2 separate regions of the Homo sapiens genome follow, and region 2 is linked to region 1. The links are contacts of gene promoters, found by promoter capture Hi-C in human tissues and cell types (Jung and others, 2019). All regions are on one chromosome and are shown on one strand. Each heading gives the region's core, a stretch centred on a gene start or on the middle of the fragment in contact. The rest is flanking DNA. Distances are from core to core; before and after follow the strand shown. Region 1 holds the start of LMAN2 (lectin, mannose binding 2). Region 2 overlaps ZNF346 (zinc finger protein 346).

Region 1 (3,266 bases), core at 366-2,865:
TTACCCCTTCACAGGGGACTCCACGCTCTGAGGATCAGACTGAAAGCTGAAGAAAGTATCCGCAGATGCCACTAACAGCAGTGTGGAGGCTCGGGGCAGGAAGGAGAGGAGGAGCAGAGGGGACGGGCAGACCAGGCAACACAAGGACAGTGTGGGTTCCCAGAACTAAACAAGAAAGTCAACCAGCAGGGATCAGAGAGCAGGGTGATGGAGAAAACTAGAACACTGGCCAACAGCTTAAGCCATGGGAAGGGCTGAGATTAGGCAAGCTGGGGCAGGAGCAGGTCCCGCTCCAAGCTGTAACCCAGCCCCAAATTATTCTTCTTTCCCCTTTTTCCTCACCTTGACTGCCTCAGTGTGGATTCTGTGTAGCAGCTGTCATTGGCCACTGCTCACATACTACATACTACATACTCTGAGGCAAAGGTCACAGACACTAGAACTGCCCACAGGTCCAGTCCCTCCACACTACTGATGACAAGACCCTCAACCAAGCATTGCAAAAAGGGTTCTAAGGGGTTCCTCCACTGTCCAGGTGAAAAGAGTCAAGTACATCGAGTGAACTGCTGGGCTTAGAGATCAGACAAATCAGAGTTTAAATACTGTTTATGACATTTGCTAGCTGGGTTATCTTTGTATAGTCATGAAAGCCATCTATTTCAAACAGCTTGTTTGAAAATTAAATGCAATAAGGCATGGCAAGGTCAGTGCCTAATACACAGCAAAACACCCAATAAAGATCCAGTTCGCTCGGTTCTTCCCATTACTGAGGGGGTTCAAGGCAGACAGCCTGACAGTTCCACTACTTTCTGGCTATGTAACTTTGGGTAAGGCCCTTTCAAACCTGAGTCTTAGCTTCTCAGTGGGTAAAATGGAGATAACATTACTCATCTCGCATGGCTTTTAAAGTGAGGAGGATGTAAAGTGTCAAGCGCAGCTCCTGACACATAGTAAGTACCCAATACCCATCGCCTCTTATTATTGGTGGGTGTGACCGAGATGAGGAAAAGGCCAGGGACGGAGGTGCAAACCTATAAACGAAGCTGGGGTCTCAGCTGCTCGGGAGGCAGGGACTAGCAGCCAACCGCACAGTACGCCTATCCTCTTGAGAACCACTCACCTGGTGGTTCCAGATAGAGCCCTCTTTGCTGCGCTCGTCAGGGGTCAGACGTACGTACTGGCTCGTGAGCATAGTGCTGCCCTGGAAGTCCCAGAGGGGCATAGAGCTGGAACCGACCCCTGTGGGAAGAGACAGGTGCTAAGAGGCCACGCCAGGACTGGCCTCACCAGAGGCAGGAAACCCACAGAGATGCTCTGCTCAGGAGAAAGGGCACGCCTTCCCCTAGCCCTGTTCAGCCTCGCCCTCACTCTTCACTCATTCCCGCCCCAAGGGCTTCACCTTGGTAGGGCTTAATGAGCGAATGCTCCCGCTTGAGATGTTCACTGTTGCCGTCAGTTATATCCGCAGTCACAGACCCCAACAACAAAAGAAGAAAGAGAGGTGTAGTGGGGCCAGGGCCGGGGCCGAGAAGCCCAGGCCTTCCCAGGCACCGCCGGCCCCAGCCCCAACGCCAAATCCAGCCTTCCGCCGCCATTCTCCTCTCCTCTCGGCCACTTCCGCCCTAGAACTTCCGCCTTCCGGGGGTCCCATCTATTGGCCTCCGGCCGGAAGCTCTTCAACTTTACTGTCGCCAGGGAGTCAAAAAGCAAAGCCTCCGCAGCAGACGGGGCGGCAGCTGCATTGGCCGGGCAGCCTCTCATCCTGGTTGAGTGCAGTTTCATCTCCTTAGAGGCTCCAAGGCACACGCCGGCCAGCCCCAGCAATGGGTTCTTTCGAGCGACAAGAGCTGTAACCAGTCACGGAACAGCACGTTAGGCTTGCGAGCCAATGAGGAGCAGAGGGATGGTTGGAGCCGGCGGGAGCGCGAGGGCCGTCCGCGACTCGGGGCATGCTGGAATTTGTAGTTTTTGTCGGTCGCTCTAATGGGGCGGATTCGCGAAGACTAGGACGTCTTGGGCTTCTGGCCGCAAGTCCCGTCTCTGGAATAACCTTTTCTAGTCCTGGAGAAAGGAGCTCTGAATTGAAGGCGGAGTCCTGCATTCCAACCCTTGTCCTCCCCGGGTGGCCCTGGGCAAGCCTTTAAGCCGTGCCTGCCGTCAGGCGCCCCAGCTTCGCGCCTTTGGAGACTCAGAATTCCCAATTATTTGAGGGCCTCCACTACCCTCAACTCCTCAGGCCTAGTCGGGTTGAAGCAAGAGGAACAGACACAGATCCTGGCCTGGGACCCCAGTGATGACTGGAACTCATCCCTATGCAAAAGAGCGCAGTGCCTGGTACAGCAAGTAACGTCCATGGAAGGCCCAGGAAAGCTGTGAATCAGAGGTCGAAAACTGGTGGCCTGCAGCTGAATAGAGCTCTGTTTTACCTGCCAATATTCTAATAAATGGCTTAACTACCAGTATTTTAAAGTCAGAATATAGAGGCTGGGCGTGGTGGCTCACGCCTGTAATCCCAGCACTTTGGGAGGCTGAGGCCGGCGGATCACGAGATCGGGAGATCGAGACCATCCTGGCTAGCACGGTGAAACCCCGTCTCTACTAAAAAATACAAAAAATTAGCCGGGCGTGGTGGCAGGTGTCTGTAGTCCCAGCTACTCGGGAGGCTGAGCCAGGAGAATGGCTTGAACCCAGGAGGCAGAGCTTGCAGTGAGCCGAAATCGCGTCACTGCACTCCAGCCTGGGCGACAGAGCGAGACTCTGTCACACACACACACACACACACACACACACACACACACACACACAAAGTCGGAATATGTACATTCACATCAGAAATCCAGACTTCCGGCTGAGCTCAGTGGCTGAGGCCTGTAATCCTAGCACTTTGGGAGGCAGAGGCGAGCAGATTACCTGAGCTCAGGAGTTTCAGACCAGCCTGGGCAACACGGTGAAACCCCGTCTCTACTAAAATACAAAAGAAATTAACGGCGTGGTGGCGGACACCTGTAGTCCCAGCTACTCGGGAGGCTGAGGCAGGAGAATTGCTTGAACCCAGGAGGCAGAGGTTGCAGTGAGCAGAGATCACGCCATTGCATTCCAGCCGGGGCGACAGAGCAAGACTCTGTCTCTACAAAAAAAAAAAAAAAGAAGAAGAAGAAGAAGAAAAGAAATCCAGACTTCCGTTTTTTTACCCAAAAAAAAAAAAAAAGAAGCAGCAGCAAAAGATCTAGGCACACATTCCCACAACAGAACAATAGGCTGGAGCT
Region 2 (3,484 bases), core at 633-3,132, 310 kb before region 1:
GGCATAGTGGGCTTCTCTCCATTCTTTGAACATGGAATATGCCAAACTCATCCCTGCCTCACAGACTTAATACTGTTTCAGGTTGGAACACTCTTTTCCTGTAAGCCTTGTGGCTGACACTTCCCCATGATGATTTTTTTTTTTTTTTTTAAATTTTCAGAGTCAAAGTCTTTCTCTGTTGCCTAGGCTGGAGTGCAGTGGCACATTCACGGCTCACTGAAGCTTCAAACTTCTAGGCTCAAGGGATTCTCCCACCTCAGCCTCCTGAATAGCTAAGACTACAGGCATGCGCCACCATGCCCAACTACGTTTTTTTTTTTTGTGTGTGTGTGTTTTTTAATTTTTGTAGAGATGTGGCTCTCCCTGTGTTGCCCAGGACAGTCTGAAACTTCTGGGCTGAAGCAATCCTCTTGCCTCAGCCTGTTGAGTTTCTGGGATTATAGGTGTGAGCCACCACAACCGGCCCTGTGATGGTCTTTACTAACTCTCCTGCCCCGTCATTCTCTACCCCGTACTCTGCTTGTTTTCATAGCATTTCTAATTCTCTGTCATTGTCTTGCTTATTTTTTACTTTATACCCCATCTTCTTTGTTGGTATGGCCCCCAGCACTAAGTGCAGTGTTGACACAAAGCACGTATTATAAATATATTTGTGTGGACTATGTGAATGTACTCTCTAAGGCCAGAGAGTGCATTCCAGCAGAGAGGTACATTTATTTAGCAGGTGCTTACCTGCCCTTGCTGTGGGTTTGGGAGTCTGATTCTGAATATGCTTGAAACCTCATCTCTTGAACAAAACAAAATCCACAATCTCCAGGTGAGGAAGTGATGACTGAACTCTGACCCCTGGGTATTACCTTCCCCATGTGGGTTTCTTATTGTGAGAAGCCTCTGACCCTCTTTTTTTTCTTCTTTTTTCTTCTTCTTCTTGTGTGTGTGTGTGTGTGTGTGTGTGTGTGTGTGTGTGTCCGAGTTTTGCTGTTGCTCAGGCTGGAGTGCAATGGCACAATCTCGGCTCACTGCAACCTCTGCCTCCCAGGTTCAAGTGATTGTCCTGCCTCTGTCTCCCAAGTAGCAGGGATTACAGGCATGCTTCACCACACCCGGCTAGTTTTGTATTTTTAGTAGAGATGGGGTTTTACCATGTTGGCCAGGCTGGTCTCAAACTCCTGACCTCAGATGATCCACCCACCTTGGCCTCCCAAAGTGCTAAGATTACAGGCATTACCAATCGTGCCTGGCCACCTCTGACCCTCTTTTAAAAGTTCTGGGCCAATTTTGTTTATAGAGTCATTTCTCTTGGTTTTTCAGAGCATAGCTAAGACAGGCAAGGTCTTTCACAAAAATTTACCATTTAAAAGAAAAATGCAGAAATAAAAAGAGATCATTAGGGGCAGAAATACAGCCCTTCTGCCTAAAAGGGCTGACATAGGTAAGCTTTAGATTTTGTGGATTAAGGAGAGACATCTTAAAAGCTCCCCACCAAGAACCTCTTCCAGGGCATCGACTTTTTTTTTTTTAAGACAGGGGCTTGCTCTGTTATCCAGGCTGGAGTACAGTGGCACTAACATGGCTTGCCATAGCCTTGACCTCCTGAGCTCAAGCAATCCTTCTGTCTCTGTCTCAGCCTTAGCCTCCCATGAAGCTGGAACCACAGGCATGTGCCACCACCCCCGGCTAGTTTTTGGTTTGTTGGTGTGTTTGTTTCTATGTAGAGACAGAGTCTCACCATCTTGCCCAGGCTGGTCTCAAACTCCTGGGCTCAACCCATCCTCCCACCTCAGCCTCCCAAAATGCTGGGATTACAGGTGTGAGCCACTGTGCCTAGCCTTGACCACTTTTTGGCTGAGACCAGGAGATTAAAAATGTGGGCCTGCCCTCCTCTCCCAGTTTTAGACTCTGCCTCTGCCTCTGCCTCACATTGCCAGCGCCATGATAGAACTCATGCCTTGGCCGGGCGCGGTGGCTCACGCCTGTAATCCCAGCACTTTGGAAGGCCAAGGTGGGTGGATCACGAGGTCAGGAGATCGAGACCATCCTGGCTAACACGATGAAACCCCGTCTCTACTAAAAATACAAAAAAATTAGTTGGGCGTGGTGGTGGGTGCCTGTAATCCCAACTACTCGGGAGGCTGAGGCAGGAGAATGGTGTGAACTTGGGAGGCGGAGCTTGCAGTGAGCCGACATCATGCCACTGCACTCCAGCCTGGGTGACAGAGCGAGACTCCCTCTCAAAAAAAAAAAAAACAAACAAAAATGAACTTATGCCTTGGGAGAGATTTTACCTCCTCTTCTCTTCTCAAAAAGGTAAGACTGTTCTCCAGGCACAATAATTTAAGCACAGGTTAATACCATGTTTCATATAGTGTGGCACTTATATAATACGTTATGTGATTTTATTTTATTTATTTATTTAGAGACAGAGTCTAGCTCTGTCACCCAAGTTGGAGTTAGTGGCACAACCTCAGCTCACTACAACCTCTGCCTCCTGGGTTCAAACAATTCTCCTGCCTCAGCCTCCCGAGTAGCTGGGATTATAGGTGCCTGCCACCACACCTGGCTAATTTTTGTATTTTTAGTAGAGACAGGGTTTCACCATGTTGGCCAGGCTGGTCTCGAACTCCTGATCTCAGGTGATCTGCCCACCTCGGCCTCCCAAAGTGCTAGGATTACAGGCGTGAGCCACCACGCCCCACCCTGTTATGTGATTTTAAATGTTTCAAAGTCAGATCAAGAACAATGAGAAAAGTATTCCTTTTTCGAGTCTTTCAGTCCTCCTGATTCTATCTGGGAAGAAGTTTCAGTTGGGTGCTACCATATCTTAAAACCTCTCAGCACAGTTGCTGTTCTCTTCTTCCTGGGGAATGCTCCAAGCCTCATTTTTATCATATTTATTTTTATTGGTATCTGCTTAAGTTTATGATCTAAAGATTCCTTTTTAAAAGAAGTTCCTAAGTAAAGAAAGTTGGCATACATAAAATTATAAAATAAGTAATAGTGTAGGTGGTGTGAGAACACAGCATGAGTCACGGTGGCAGTAGGAAAGGCTGGCTGAGGTCTGCCAGTGTCCTAGTATGGCATCCCATCATTCAGTGCCTGTGTTTGAGGCAGGGTTCAAAGGCAGTGCTGTTGAGGTAGTGTTTGTCAACTCAATGATTTCTTGTTTTCCCCTCTATAGTGGAGCACATGATCCAGAAGAACCAATGTCTCTTCACCAACACCCAGTGTAAGGTTTGCTGCGCCTTGCTTATTTCTGAGTCCCAGAAGCTGGCACATTACCAGGTATGCCATCATACTTTTAGAACTGCGTTTCTTTTCAGACCTGGTGCCAAACCACTAATTCTCTCTGGCTTGCATGGTGAAGTGTAATTGCTGCTTAGCCACCCAGATGTTGCCTCCATGCATGTTGGCTTGTGACTTGAAGATTGACTTAATCTCCTTGAGTCTCATCTCCCCCATCCAAATCAGGATCATTATATGTGTA

The links. Contacts are between HindIII fragments. The study calls those that stand out against the background at their distance.
Region 2: a contact is called between a fragment that was not itself captured here and the fragment with the promoter of LMAN2 in region 1, in 4 of the 25 tissues and cell types used here (IMR-90 fibroblasts, dorsolateral prefrontal cortex, lymphoblastoid cells and 1 more).

What each region holds. Positions count from the first base shown.
Region 1 is chr5:177,350,053-177,353,318 of GRCh38, forward strand. LMAN2 (lectin, mannose binding 2) reads right to left here and starts at 1,616. Exons shown (of 8, transcript NM_006816.3): 1 at 1,400-1,616; 2 at 1,121-1,239. The coding sequence starts at 1,595. RefSeq lists enhancers at 1,557-1,746, 1,757-1,806 and a silencer at 1,701-1,915. The HindIII fragment of the contact is 12,408 bases long and covers 1-3,266 here.
Region 2 is chr5:177,037,948-177,041,431 of GRCh38, forward strand. ZNF346 (zinc finger protein 346) reads left to right here. Exons shown (of 7, transcript NM_012279.4): 2 at 3,179-3,282. Among named protein-coding and RNA genes, the nearest start is that of ZNF346, 17 kb to the left of the region's middle. RefSeq lists a silencer at 743-792. The HindIII fragment of the contact is 3,815 bases long and covers 1-3,484 here.